Linked DNA regions of Homo sapiens: region 1 is linked to region 2. Evidence: promoter capture Hi-C in human tissues and cell types (Jung and others, 2019). All regions are on one chromosome and are shown on one strand. Each heading gives the region's core, a stretch centred on a gene start or on the middle of the fragment in contact. The rest is flanking DNA. Distances are from core to core; before and after follow the strand shown. Region 1 overlaps XKR7 (XK related 7). Region 2 holds the start of FOXS1 (forkhead box S1).

What was found. Contacts are between HindIII fragments. The study calls those that stand out against the background at their distance.
Region 1: a contact is called between a fragment that was not itself captured here and the fragment with the promoter of FOXS1 in region 2, in 1 of the 25 tissues and cell types used here (lymphoblastoid cells).

Annotation. Positions count from the first base shown.
Region 1 is chr20:31,980,990-31,987,936 of GRCh38, forward strand. All of the region lies in intron 1 of XKR7 (XK related 7), which reads left to right. Among named protein-coding and RNA genes, the nearest start is that of XKR7, 16 kb to the left of the region's middle. The HindIII fragment of the contact is 6,526 bases long and covers 875-6,947 here.
Region 2 is chr20:31,843,425-31,850,328 of GRCh38, forward strand. It overlaps FOXS1 (forkhead box S1), which reads right to left and starts at 2,180. Exons shown (of 1, transcript NM_004118.4): 1 at 879-2,180. The coding sequence starts at 2,118. The coding sequence ends at 1,126. It also overlaps a transcript of DUSP15 not described here. RefSeq lists an enhancer at 1,564-2,121. The HindIII fragment of the contact is 12,044 bases long and covers 1-6,904 here.

The sequences.
Region 1 (6,947 bases), core at 2,888-5,387, 140 kb after region 2:
AGGAGGTCGAGGCCGCAATGAGCTGTGCTCTCATCACTGCACTCCAGCCTGGGTAACAGAGTGAGACCCTGTCTCAAAAAAAAAAAAAAAAAATGGCCAGGTGCTGTGGCTCATGCCTGTAATCCTAGCACTTTGGGAGGCACAGGGAGGTGATCACTTGAGGTCAGGAGTTTGAGAATAGCCCCATCAACATGGTGAAACCCTGTCTCTACAAAAAAAAAAAAAATACAAAAATCAGCTGGGTGCAGTTGCCCACGCCTGAAGTCCCAGCTACTTGGGATGCCCCTGAGGCAGAAGAATCACTTGAACCCAGAGGGCAGGGGTTGCGGCGAGCTGAGATGGCGCCACTGCACTCCAGCTTGGGCAACAGAGCAAGACCCTGTCTCAAAAACAACAACAACAATAAAAAAGATAAAGACCAGCCAGTCACAGTGGCTCACGCCTGTAATCCCAGCCCTTTGGGAGGCTGAGATGGGTGGATCACCTGAGGTCAGGATTTTGAGATCAGCCTGGCCAACATGGCAAAACCCCGTCTCTACTAAAAATACAAAAATTAGCCAGGTGTGGTGGCATGTATCTGTAATCCCAGCTACTCGGGAGGCTGAGGCAGGAGAATCGCCTGAACCTGGGAGGTAGAGGTTGCAGTGAGCCGAAATCGTGCCACTGCACTGCAGCCTGGGCAACAGAGTGAGACTCTGTCTAAAAACAAACAAACCAACAAACAAACAAAGAAAAAACAAAAGATAAAGGCCAAATACCATGGTTCACGTCTCCACTTCGTGTCGTGCTTTCTTCCCTTTCTTCTCCCTCCTTCTCTGACGGCAGCCATTCTGACCACTTACTGCTCCCTCCCACTTCAGGACTTTTGCCTATGTTGTTTCCTCAGCCAGAGGCTACCTTCCCTGCCTCCTTTACCTGGTTAACTCCTATGTCTGCTTCAGATCGTGGCTCAGTAGTCACCTCCTCTAGAAAGCCTTCCCTGACTGCCACACCCTTCCCAAGCTGGGCCTGGCTGTCCTCCAATAGCACTGCCATCCACAGTGCTGAAGCAGGGACCTCTGTTTGGAGCATTTCTGGAGCCCATGGAACATGCTTGTTGTTACATGTTTACTTGATGATTTAGTTAATCTTCAGGTCCCCATTAAACTGAGTTCCACCAGTGGGTTGGGTCTGTCTTGCACACCATTGTGTCCACGAGCCATTTTAGCACAGTTTGGGGTACATAGAAGGTACTCAAAAGTGCTTGGTGGACTGGGCATGGTGGCTCATGCATGTAATCCCAGTAGTTTGGGAGGCTGAGGTGGGTGGATCACCTGAGGTCAGGAGTTCGAGACCAGCCTGGCTGACATGGCGAAACCCTGTCTCTACTAAAAATACACAAATCAGCTGGGGTGTGGTGGCGCATGCCTGTAATCCCAGCTACTCGGGAGGCTGAGGCAAGAGAATCACTTGAATCCAGGAGGTGGAGGTTGCAGTGAGCTGAGATCGAGCCACTACACTCCAGCCCAGGCGACAGAGAGACTCTGTCTCAAAAAAAAAAAAAAAAAAGGCTTGGTGAATAAATGTCAAATGAACCTTCCCTTTTCTGACACTAAGTTTCCTCATCTGGAAAATGGAGATTATGTCCATGAACCTCACAGGACCACAGTGAAGATTTTAGCGAAGTACATATAAAAGGTATTTGATGAGTGGTAGTTATTTTCTGGGGGGCAGGCAGAGACCCCAAAGAATACTTGCCCTGTGAACCTGTCCCAAAGGTGCTTTCTGACCCAGTGTCCCTCGGGGACAGGTTCAACGAGCACCAGGGGAAAGCCAGCCTAGAAGTGGGTCTCAGCTGTGCCAGAAACCAAACTTCCTTCTTACTGATGGGGCCTCTGATTCAAAAAGCTCCTTGAAACCTTCCATTGATCAAGTGCCCAACACTGAGCTGGGCGTTTTACACACATTACTACTTTCTGATTTCACAGCCACCCTGTAAATGGGTATTGGGCTGATGGGTCCAGAGACGGGAGGCAACTTGTCTGGGGCTACATAGTCAGTAAGAGATGGAGCTAGGATCTGAGCCCAGGCCTGACTCTTTCACCTGGGTTCTTTCCCTCTGTTCTTGGCCACTTTTACTTAAGAAGTTTACAAAGCAGAGTTTATAAAGTATAATCACTCTCTTCATTCATTCACTCACTCAACAAATGACTGTACATTAACGATGTGCCAGGCACTGGGCATGTAGCAGAGGACACCATAAACATGGTCCCCACTCTCATGGAGCCTGCAGTGCTAGGGGAAAGACAGGCAATAAATATGTAAACAAGTAAATGAGATGGTTTCAGGTTGTGATGTGTGTTACTTAAAAAAACAGGGTAACATGACAGAAAGTGACCAGAGAGGCTGCAGAAGTGCTTTGCGGGGTTACAGGCAGTGGTGAGGGGGATGGCTGGGAAAGCTCTCTGAAGAGGTGACATTGAGCTGAGATGGGAGAATGAGAGTTTGACAGGCGTTAGTGAGGACCTTTCTAGGCAGAGGCCCTGGGGTTGGAGTGAGCTTGGTGTGTTCAGGAAGCAGGAGCTGGAGCATGGGAGAGAGGGAGGGTGGTGGGAGAGGGTCCCCGGGAGGGACAAAGGTTGTGTCCTCCTGGACCTCAAGGGTCATGGTGAAGAGTTAATTTTAAAAGTAGTGGGGGCCGGGCACGGTGGCTTATGCCTGTAATCCTAGCAGTTTGGGAGGCCGAGGCAGGCGGATCACCTGAGGTCAGGAGTTCGAGACCATCCTGGCCAATAGGGCAAAACCCTGTCTCTACTAAAAATACAAAAATTAGCCAGGCATGGTGGCAGGCACTTGTAATCCCAGCTACTTGGAAGGCTGAGGCAGGGAGAATTGCTTGAACCCAGGAGGCAGAGGTTGCAGTGAGCCAAGATCGTGCTATTGCACTCCAGCCTGGGTGACAGAGCAAGACTCTGTCTCAATAAATAAATAAATAAATAAATAAATAAATAGCGGGGAGTGGACAGGCACAGTGGTTCACTCCCAGCACTTGGGAGGCCGAGTCAAGTGGATCCCTTGAGGTCAAGAGTTTGAGACCAGCCTGACCAACATGGTGAAACCCTGTCTCTACTAAAAAACAAAAATTAGCCAGGCGTGGTGGCGCACACCCGTAATCCCATCTACTTGGGAGGCTGAGGCACGAAAATCACCTGAACCCGGGACGTGGAGGTTGCAGTGAGCCAAGATCATGCCACTGCATTCCAGCCTGGGTGACAAGAGTGAGACTCCATTTCAAAAAAAAAAACAAGTAGTGGGGAGTGGCCTGCCCTTACCTAGGAGTTTACAAGATCCCCCTGCTGTTGTGTGAAGACAAGGCTTGAAGAGGGCAAGGATGGAAGCAAGCACCCCAGGGAAGCTGCCGGAATGAGGTGGCTTGGACCAGGGTGTTGACACCAGGGTAGAGAGAAGGACTTGGGTTCAGGACATAGCTGTGGAACATTAATGTTATCAGAGTTGGATGGGTGGGGAGGGGCTTGATGAACATCCCTTGGTGTAGACAAGAATCAGTTACTTGGGCTTGGGCCCATTTTATAGAAGAAGATTGAGGCCCATCGAGGAGCTGGGCTTTCCTGGAATCACCTTGGTCTCCTGACTCTTCACTTACTATTGTTGCCTGTCTCCCAGTTTTCTCTAAACCCATATAATCCCAAGTGAAACCTGAGGTCCATTGTGTCTTACCGGGGTCCTATCAGGATCCTGCTGGGCAGCCGTACTGCACACCTTCCAGGCGAGGGAAGCTGCCACGTAGGCAGCCGAGGCAACAGGGGAATCCCGTGGGATGAGACTTGTCCTTCCTCATCCCTGCTCTGGCTCAGGAGGCCATGAAGAGCCAGGGCTGAGTCCTAGATCTGGCACTAACTTGCTGTGTGACTTGGGACGAGTCCTGGTCCCTTTCTAGGTCTGTTTCTCATCTGTGAAATAAGGATAATGGTAGTCCCTGCTTCGAAGATTTGTTAAGAGGGATGGATACGTTCATATGTATAAAAAGTCTCAGCACAGCCTGTCATCCAGCTGGGACTCAGTAAGTGTGAGCTGTTATCCTTATTAGTAACCACTGCACACTGTCCCCCTGCAGACCTACAGACTAACTATGGGCTCAGCTGGGGGGATGTCCTACCCCTGCCCATCAGTCCTGGCTCTCCCATCTGCCTCCCAGCCCCACCCTGTTCACTCTGTAGGGATCTGCAGACCCTGGCCCGCATTGAGACTAGGGAGCTAGCCAGCATGAGGGTGGTTCCTGGATGGAGAGGCAGCGGGGGAGCCACTGGAAGCTGCTGTGTGTTTGGCCCAGAACTGTGAGGGGGAGTGGGGAGGGGCGAGAACACACACTCGGAAATGCTGAGACCGACAGATGGAGGAGCTGAGGATGTGAGAGACACAGACAGACAGAGAGAGACCCAGAGTCAGGGAGAGGAGGAGCAGGCAGGGGAGGATGGCCAGAAAACTGGCAGTCACACCAAGCCACGAGCTGAGCAACAAATCAGCAGATGGACCAAGCAGTCGAGGGACTAAAAGACACAGACAGACAGACCACCAAGTGGACCTAGCATCCAAGACACAGACAGACCACCGAACAGATCCAGTATCCAAAGCACAGACAGACAGACCACCAAGCAGACCCAGCATCCAAGACACAGACAGACCACCAAGTGGACCCAGCATCCAAGACACAGACAGACAGACTACCAAGCAGACCCAGCATCCAAGACACAGACAGACAGGCAGACTACCAAGCAGACCCAGCATCCAAGACACAGACAGACAGACAGACAGACAGACAGACTACCAAGCAGACCCAGCATCCAAAACACAGACAGACCACCAAGCGGACCCAGCATCCAGACACAGACAGACAGACAGACAGACAGACTACCAAGCAGACCCAGCATCCAAAACACAGACAGACCACCAAGCGGACCCAGCATCCAGACACAGACAGACAGACAGACAGACAGACTACCAAGCAGACCCAGCATCCAAGACACAGACAGACAGACAGACAGACTACCAAGCAGACCCAGCATCCAAGACACAGACAGACAGACCACCAAGCAGACCAAGCATCCAAGACACAGACAGACCACCAAACAGATCCAGCATCCAAGGCACAGACAGACAGACAGACAGACCACCAAGCACACCCAGCATCCAAGACACAGACAGACAGACAGACCACTAAACAGATCCAGTATCCAAGGCACAGACAGACAGACCACCAAGCAGACCCAGCATCCAAGACACAGACAGACAGACCACCAAGCAGACCCAGCATCTGAGACACAGACAGACAGACCACCAAACAGATCCAACATCCAAGACACAGACAGACAGACCACCAAGCAGACCAAGCATCCAAGACACAGACAGACCACCAAACAGATCCAGCATCCAAGGCACAGACAGACAGACAGACCACCAAGCACACCCAGCATCCAAGACACAGACAGACAGACAGACCACTAAACAGATCCAGTATCCAAGGCACAGACAGACAGACCACCAAGCAGACCCAGCATCCAAGACACAGACAGACAGACCACCAAGCAGACCCAGCATCTGAGACACAGACAGACAGACCACCAAACAGATCCAACATCCAAGACACAGACAGACAGACCACCAAACAGACCAAGCATCCAAGACACAGACAGACAGACCACCAAACGGATCCAGTATCCAAGGCACAGACAGACCACCAAGTAGACCCAGCATCCAAGACACAGACAGACCACCAAGCAGACCCAGCATCCAAGACACAGACAGACAGACAGACAGAGAGACAACCAAGCAGACCCAGCATCCAAGACACAGACAGACAGACCACCAAACAGATCCAGTATCCAAGACACAGACAGACAGACAGACAGACCACCAAGCCGACCCAGCATCCAAGACACAGACAAACAGACGACCAAGCAGACCCAGCATCCAAGGCACAGCAGACAGACAGACCGCTAAACAGATCCAGTATCCAAGGCACAGACAGACAGACCACCAAGCAGACCCAGCATCCAAGACACAGACAGACAGACCACCAAACAGATCCAGTATCCAAGGCACAGACAGACCACCAAGTAGACCCAGCATCCAAGACACAGACAGACAGACCACCAAACAGACCCAGCATCCAAGACACAGACAACAGACCTCAAAGCGGGCCCAGTATCAAGACACAGACACACAGACCTCCAAGAGGACCCAGTATTAAGACACAGACAGACAAACAGACCACCAAGCAGACCCAGCATCCAAGACACAGACAGACAGACCACCAAACAGATCCAGTATCCAAGGCACAGACAGACCACCAAGCAGACCCAGCATCCAAGACACAGACAGACAGACCACCAAGCAGACCCAGTATCCAAGGCACAGACAGACCACCAAGTAGACCCAGCATCCAAGACACAGACAGACAGACCACCAAGCAGACCCAGTATCCAAGGCACAGACAGTCCACCAAGTAGACCCAGCATCCAAGACACAGACAGACAGACCACCAAACAGACCCAGCATCCAAGACACAGACAGACAGACCACAAAGCGGCCCCAGTATCAAGACACAGACACACAGACCTCCAAGAGGACCCAGTATTAAGACACAGACAGACAGACAGACCACCAAACAGATCCAGCATTCAAGACACAGAGAGACAGATCACCAAGTGGACCCAGTATCAAGACAGACAGAAAAGCAGACCTCGTATTCACAGGATAGACAGGCTGTCTGGCATCCAGGGGACAGAGACTGAAGCTCCTGGCCTCTAAGGGCAGGCAGACAGGCTGACCCAGGATCACAGGGTCAGACCAATAGGACATAGTATCTGAGAGACTATGTGACCCACAGTCCAAGGGACAGGATTCCAGGATTTTGGAACTGAGCCAGGGACTGAGCCAGGATTCCAGGG
Region 2 (6,904 bases), core at 930-3,429:
GAATATCCCCATTTCTCCTGCTTCCTCGCGAAGGGATAGTCAGAGAAGGTCAAAGGTCAGGGCTCAGTCACTTCTGAATGGTACCTAGGACAGTCACAGCCCATGCTGCTGGCCCCAAGAAATGCCGTCTTAAAGAGTCACCAGAGGACCTCATGGAGCTGGGGGCTCAGGGAAGCTCCCACATTAATGTGGGAAGTCCAAACAGGGGGTAGGTGCTGCCTTTTGAACCCTAGGTGCCCTGTCTGCACAATGGGTAAAGGGTGCCTTTCTAGCCCTGGCCTTCCAGGATTGCAGCAAAGCCCTCCCACCTCTGGGGGCCACCACCAGCTCTGCCCTGACCCTCTTCTCCACCCTTATGTCCTCACTCAAGCTGCAGGTCAGAGGCTGGAGGGTAGAGCCACACAGATGTGGTTTTGATTTACCCTCTGCCACCCATTTGCCCTCTGGAGTTGGAGCTGGCGAGCCTGTTTCCACCACTGTAAACGGGGCCAACTTTCCAAATCACACAGGTGAGATGATACATACAAGCCCGGGACAGGATCAGTGTCACAAATTGTCAGGGTTATGATGACTGCACCTACGGGGGCTAAGTCCCAGCATCTGAGACTGGAGAATCAGTCCCTCAGGCCAGCCCAGTCTTGCCCCTGCCCAGTCTCTCCCTTGCCTGTATCCTCCTCTCCCTGCTCCCCATTCCCTACCTCCCCTTCCTCTCCCTTTCTAGGAAACTCCCTGAGAAAGTCCCCAGCAGGAGAAAACCTCATGTGAGATATTCCCACCAAGGGTCTCTGCCCCCGCTGCACAACCCCACAGCCACAGCCACCCCCACATACAAGCAGGCACCCTGGCCCTCAGCCCCCAGCCATCAGGCAAGCTGACCCTCATCATCACATGGCTTTATTGGCCCTGAGAGCCACAGAGTAAATCCCAAGAGGCCCTGCTTCCCCTCACCCCCAAGTTTGTCCGGAGGCCCCAGGGGCCTGGCTGAGCACCGCTTCAATCCTGGCTTTCTGTGTGGTTGTCCTTGGCTCACCAGGGCTGGGTCCTTCGAGAGTTCTTCAGGTCCTAGAGCCAGGCTCAGCCCGGAGGGTGAGGGACCTGCAGGGACTGCCCGAGGTGAGGCTGCCTTTACTCAAAGAAGAACATTCCTGGCGTCCGGTATAGGCAGGGGGTCAGCCCCAATGGGTAGCCGGAGCCTCCCTGGACAGGGAAGCCACCTGCAACCCAGGGTTCCTTGTGGTCAGTTGGCAGGGGCAGTGGGGCCCGGAGTGAGCCTGGAGGGGTGGGTGGTGCAGGGGAGGGGGCTGCTGAGGCCAAGAGGTGCTCAAGGCCTGGGTCAGCCCCCATGCAAAAATTCAGTGCCTGCAGCCGACACTGGTAGCTGCTCCCGATGCCTGATTCCGGGGACAAGACGGGCGTAGGGGCCTTATTAAAACTCTCAGCCTCTGAGAAGCCGGCAGGAAAGCCAAACGCTGGGCATGAGGAAGATGAGGTGGCCACGGGGAGCTCCCCTGGGCATGCAGGCTTGGGCGTGGAAATCTCTTTGGGCTCCATGGGTGGCCGAGGCCTGCCATCAGTGGTTGCTGGGCACATACTGGCTGGCATGGCCCCCACCAGACCCCCAAAGCTTAGGCCCTTGGGATCTGGCAGCTCTGGTGGGAATGAGCACTGCCTGCCGGTCGTGGCGTTGGGGACTCCTGGGTCCTGGCTGGTCGCCCTGAGGGGTCCACGGCGTGCCTTGGCGGGGCCCCGGGTGCCCTCAGCACCTGTCTGCCGGGTGAAGCGGCGGCGGCGGCGTAGGAAGCTGCCGTGCTCAAACATGTCGTGGCAGTCAGGGTCCAGCGTCCAGTAGCTGCCCTTGCCTGGCTTGCGGTCATCGCGGGGCACCTTGACAAAGCACTCGTTGAGTGACAGGTTGTGGCGGATGCTGTTCTGCCAGCCGGGCCGGTTGTGGCGGTAGAAGGCGAATCGGCCCATGATGTAGCGGTAGATGCCACTGAGGGTGGCCCGCTGCCCCGGTGAGCTCTGGATGGCCATAGCAATAAGGGCGATGTAGCTGTAGGGAGGCTTGGTTGGCTCAGTTGTGGGGGCGCCAGGCCCGGGCAGAGGCTGCTGCTGCATGCTGGCCGGGCTGCCAGGCTGCTGGGACCTGCTGGGTCAGGCTCAGCTTCCAGGGCTGGCGTCCGGAATAGCCTGCCCAGGCTGGTTAAAAGGTCCACTGGCCCAGCCTCCCAGCCTGGAAAGGCAAAAAGGGGTGGGTCTGCTGAGCCATCCTCCCCTCCTCCCTCGCCCCACTCCCACAAGGCCCAAAAGAGGCGGGCAGGAGAGGCCAGTAGTGGGAAGCCGAGCAGCTGCCAGGGATGAGGAGTTGGGAAGGAAGGGACTGAGACCCTCAGCCCACGTGTGCTGGGTGGTGGTGGCTGGGGAGGGACAGGATGTGAAACTGAGCGGGACAGAGACAAAAACAAAATGAGACAGAGGCAGAAACATATGAAACAGAGACAGGGAAAAAAGAGATAGAGACAGAGAGAGGTAGAGACATCACAAGAGGGAGAAAGAGGGAGAGACAAAGATAAGACAGAGGCAGACACAACGGACAGAGACACCCAGAGCCTCTCAGACACTCACAGAGAGACACACAGACATACACGTACAGACACACAGAGACACACAGACATACACGTACAGACACACAGAGACACACAGACACAGACACACACACAGACACACACACACAGACATAAGCACACACACACATATACACAGAGACAGACACACACAGACACATAGGCATACACACAGACACACACACAAGCACATACACAGACACACAGAGACATACACACACAGAAACACAGAGACACAGACACAGACACACACACACACACACACACACACACACGTAGTATACGGAGAAAGTGAGAATCACTGAGCAGGCAGAAACAAGGAAATCCACAAAGCCAGAGAGAAAGGAGATACTGAGAGACACAGGTGCAAACACAAGGAGTGAAAGGAATGAATAGAGAGAGAGAGAGAGAGAGAGAGAGAGAGAGAGGAGAGAGAGGCAGGGCCTGAGCCCAGTCCCCCTAGAGTGAGAGAAGCCCCAGGGGCTTCTCTAATCCCTACCTCTACTCCTGCTTTTCCCTCTTCTCCCAGGCCTGTGGTCTACTGCCTTCTCCTGCGGTGCAGAGGCCTTGGGGCCACACCACTCCTACCCCATCCTCCTAGCTCTGGGGTGTCTGCAGGGAGGGGCACCTAGGATGGTAAGGAGAGCCCATGAAATTCAGTTCTGCTGCATCCCTGTCGCCCCCTAGTGACTGGTGTGGGAAGGACAGCTATCTGGGGAGAGACATTCTCCCTCCCAAGAGGCACCTCAAGACCTTGGCTGAGCCTCAGTTTCCCCATCTCTAACATGGAGCTGGTGACTCCTCAGCTGTCCAGGCCATGGTGGGGAGGCAACAGGTTCCCCTTACACAGAATGCAGCACCCTCATCAAGAGCCTAGTATGGAGTAGGGATATGAACATGGCTGCGGATTGTCACTCTGAACTGAGGCTACCCCAGCTGCAGCCTGGGGTCGGGAGGTCCAGAGAGTCAGGCCCAGAACAGTCAGGCCTTCTGGAGGAGGGGACGGCATCCTCTCTGCTCTCCCACTCCCAAGTCACTGCTCACCCACTCTGTACCAGGCCAGCTCACCTCCCCAACCCTACACTTACTTCTTCAACCAACCCTGCTCTGGAGGGCTTCATTGCTTCTTTTGAATAGATGAGGGCTCTGAGGCTCAGAGAAGGTAAGTAAATTCCCTGATGTCCCACATCTAGTGAGTGACAAAGCTGGATATGAGCCTAGGATTCTGTAATTCCTAAATACTGCCTCTTCAGTGAGGGGCAGGGGTAGCGGAGAGTCGCTGGGTCCCCACTAGAAAACAGAATGTGAACTCCAAGAGAGTAAAGAGCATGCTGTTTTGCTGTACCCCCAGAGTCACACACTGGACACTGGAACAGAGGCCTGGAACAGAGTAGGTGTTCAAGAAATGTCTGCTAAATGACTAAACAAACAGCAATTGATTGATTTCTGTCCTTTATCGAATCACAGTTTTCCCCCCATGAAGGTGGCTTATTAATGTATCATTAAAAGAGACTTACAATATTGGCATCTGTAAGAGGATTCCTATAAATAAAATCAGAACTCAGAAAAGAATAAAAGGCCTGATATGTGGGGTGGAAAACAGCTACTTTATTCCCATGGCAGGGTAACCAACTTTCTGGTTGTAGTCCCCCTTTCCAGTTCTCAGATTGCCTACAACGTACAGCTTGCAAAGACCAGTGGGGCTTGGAGAAGGGCTGGTCTTCCACGTTGACCTCTGCCTTAGGGCTGCATTTGGAGGTCCGCCTCAGTTTCTTCAAAGACAGCATCCTACAGGTGCTGGTACTTCAGTGGTTAGCATCCAAAGCCCAGGGTTCGGCCAAGTTCCCTGTTTTGGGATCCTTCCCAGCCCCCAGAATAAAGAAGAGAGACTAGCTGCAGGGAGGAGGAAGGTTCTGTAAATTCTAGGCCCCTGAGAGGCTAGGCAGTTTTGTTATGGCTTGATCCCACACTAAACAACCCTGATGATCTAATTATTGGTAAAAACTTTAAGCAAACGTTTTAATGGACTCAACAGCAGGTTAAGGCTGGCTCTGAGGAAAGCGCTATTGACAAATTGGGCTGTCAGCAAGAGATGAAGTCTTGCTTCTGCTCCAGTTGCTGCCTTTCTGGGGCCTCAAGATCAAGTTCAGTTTCCTGCCGAAGCCCCATGCCCAGCTGGGGGGCGGTGTGGCCTACTCTCGAGTTCCGGGGCCCCGTGACAGAGGAGTGGAAGGCCGCGATCCACCTCTGCCGTCCGGCAGACCTGGGTGATGTGCCGGGGGAGGCCCCAAGTCTATGGGCTTAGTGTGGGCAGGGTTGGGTGGGAGTAGGGAGCCCCCCTGTTGGGGGCTGCCTTCAGCGGGTACAAGAAGAGGAAGCGGCTCGCTTAGGATGGAGGCAGCTGCATTGAAGGTGAGTGATGCCATCGGGGTTGCCAGGGGTTGAGGACCCATCTGGGCGCTCGGTTGAGGCACTTAGAGTGCAGGACGAGCTCCCAGGCCGAAGCTGCACCTGCACCTGCGGGGGCGGGTGGGGCGATGAGCAGACCCTCTCCATTTCCCGCCTCGGATGTTCCCATGGGAAGTCACAGCCCTAGTTACAGCCCCATCCCTACCCCCATTTTCCAGGTAGGGTCCTACAGACCCGAGGGTGCTAGAAGTGTCAGAGGCAGAGCTGGGACTGGAGGGAGTGTGGGAAGGGCTGTCTGGAGGGGACTGGAGGGCGTGCTTCTTGGCTGGAGTGGAAGGAGTGACTCACGTCCGCCATGATGAGCTGCTCCTTGGGGTGCTGTGTGGGGCCCGGGTCCTCCTCACCGAAGCACAGACAGATCTGGTACTTTGGGTCCGGTGACCATCCTGCAGGTGGGCACACAATTATACGACACTGAGACTATAGGGACTGGGCAAGAACTAGGCAACCCACTGGTGCCCATCTTGTGCTCATTTCCCATGCCCAAGTCCTGTAAGCCCACATCCCATTGTGTGCCTGTACCCTAGGCCCACTTCCACGTTCCTATGCCTGTCCCATGTCCCACATCTGTGCCCACTTCCAGGTCTTATGTCTCTTCCTTGGCCCCTATGCCCACCCCATGCCTTTATGCCCAACCCATGCCCACTGCCACTCACCTATACCTATCTCGTGCTTGGTGCACCTCACATCCACCTTATGCCCTAAGCCAACACATGTACCGAAGCCCTATTCTTATGCTGCACACCCAACGCCTCAAGCCTTCTCCATGCCAGCACCCCATATACGCCTGTATCCGTATATGTGCCCCCAGCCCTCCTGGTGCCTGTATTCTTTCCCATCCCTGGTGCTTTTGTGCCATATTCTTTGTGTCAATGTCCACTTCATGCCCAGCACCCTTAGGCCCATCCCCCTGGGCCTGCATTTAATGTGCCCACTCTCCTCTGTTCATGTTCCTTTGCCCACCGCGTCCTTATGCCCCCGTTCCCACGCCACTCTGTTCCACTCCTCCAGCCGTCCTACCGCCTGGAGGAAGCCGCGTGTGTTCAGCAGGTGGCAGGTGCGCCTGCGCTCCACCTTGTTGGGCTGCGCCAGTACAGGCCCTGGCACAGGCGCTTGGTGAACACGCCCTCCGGAGCCACCCAGAGCTGCACACCGCGCTCCAGGTGAGGCGGCAGGCCCTGCAACACGTGGGCGCTGGGCAATGGGTCGGGGAAGCGAACCTGCTGCAACGTGAGGTGGCGGCCCCAGCAGGCGCTCGGCGGCCGCCCGCGGACTCAGACGACAGCGCTGGGCTGTGCGCCCGGTGGCTTCGCGCACCAGCGCTGCGGAGAGAAGAGCCACACGTGCAGCCAGCAGGCTGTGGGGCGAGAGAGGGTGCACGGGCTGGACGTGGGCGGCGCTAGCTCCCCTCGCCTTCTTACCCTCCCCTTCAAACTCTGCCGGACCCAGAGGTCGTCCCAGCCTCTACCTCGGAAATTTTGGGTGCTCTCTCCCTATCAGTGATGATAAGAATTCTAGTAATAATAGTAGTAAACAATAGCTTCCAGTATAAACGAACTGATAGTCGAGCTCTGCGGTTAAAAGCTGGGGCCATCTGTACAGTGAGGGCATGACCCTCCCAGCAAATCTTCTGGGATTCTAGGAGCTTCCTCCCAGCAAAGATTTTGATGCAGGTAGAAATAACCATAACAGCGACAATAACAACAACCTAGCAGCGTCTCATGAGAAACCAGCAATCCTGCTCAGTGGTTAGGGTTGTGGGCTCTGCAGCCAGGCCCTCGGATTCTAGTCTATCACTGCCACTTAGGAGC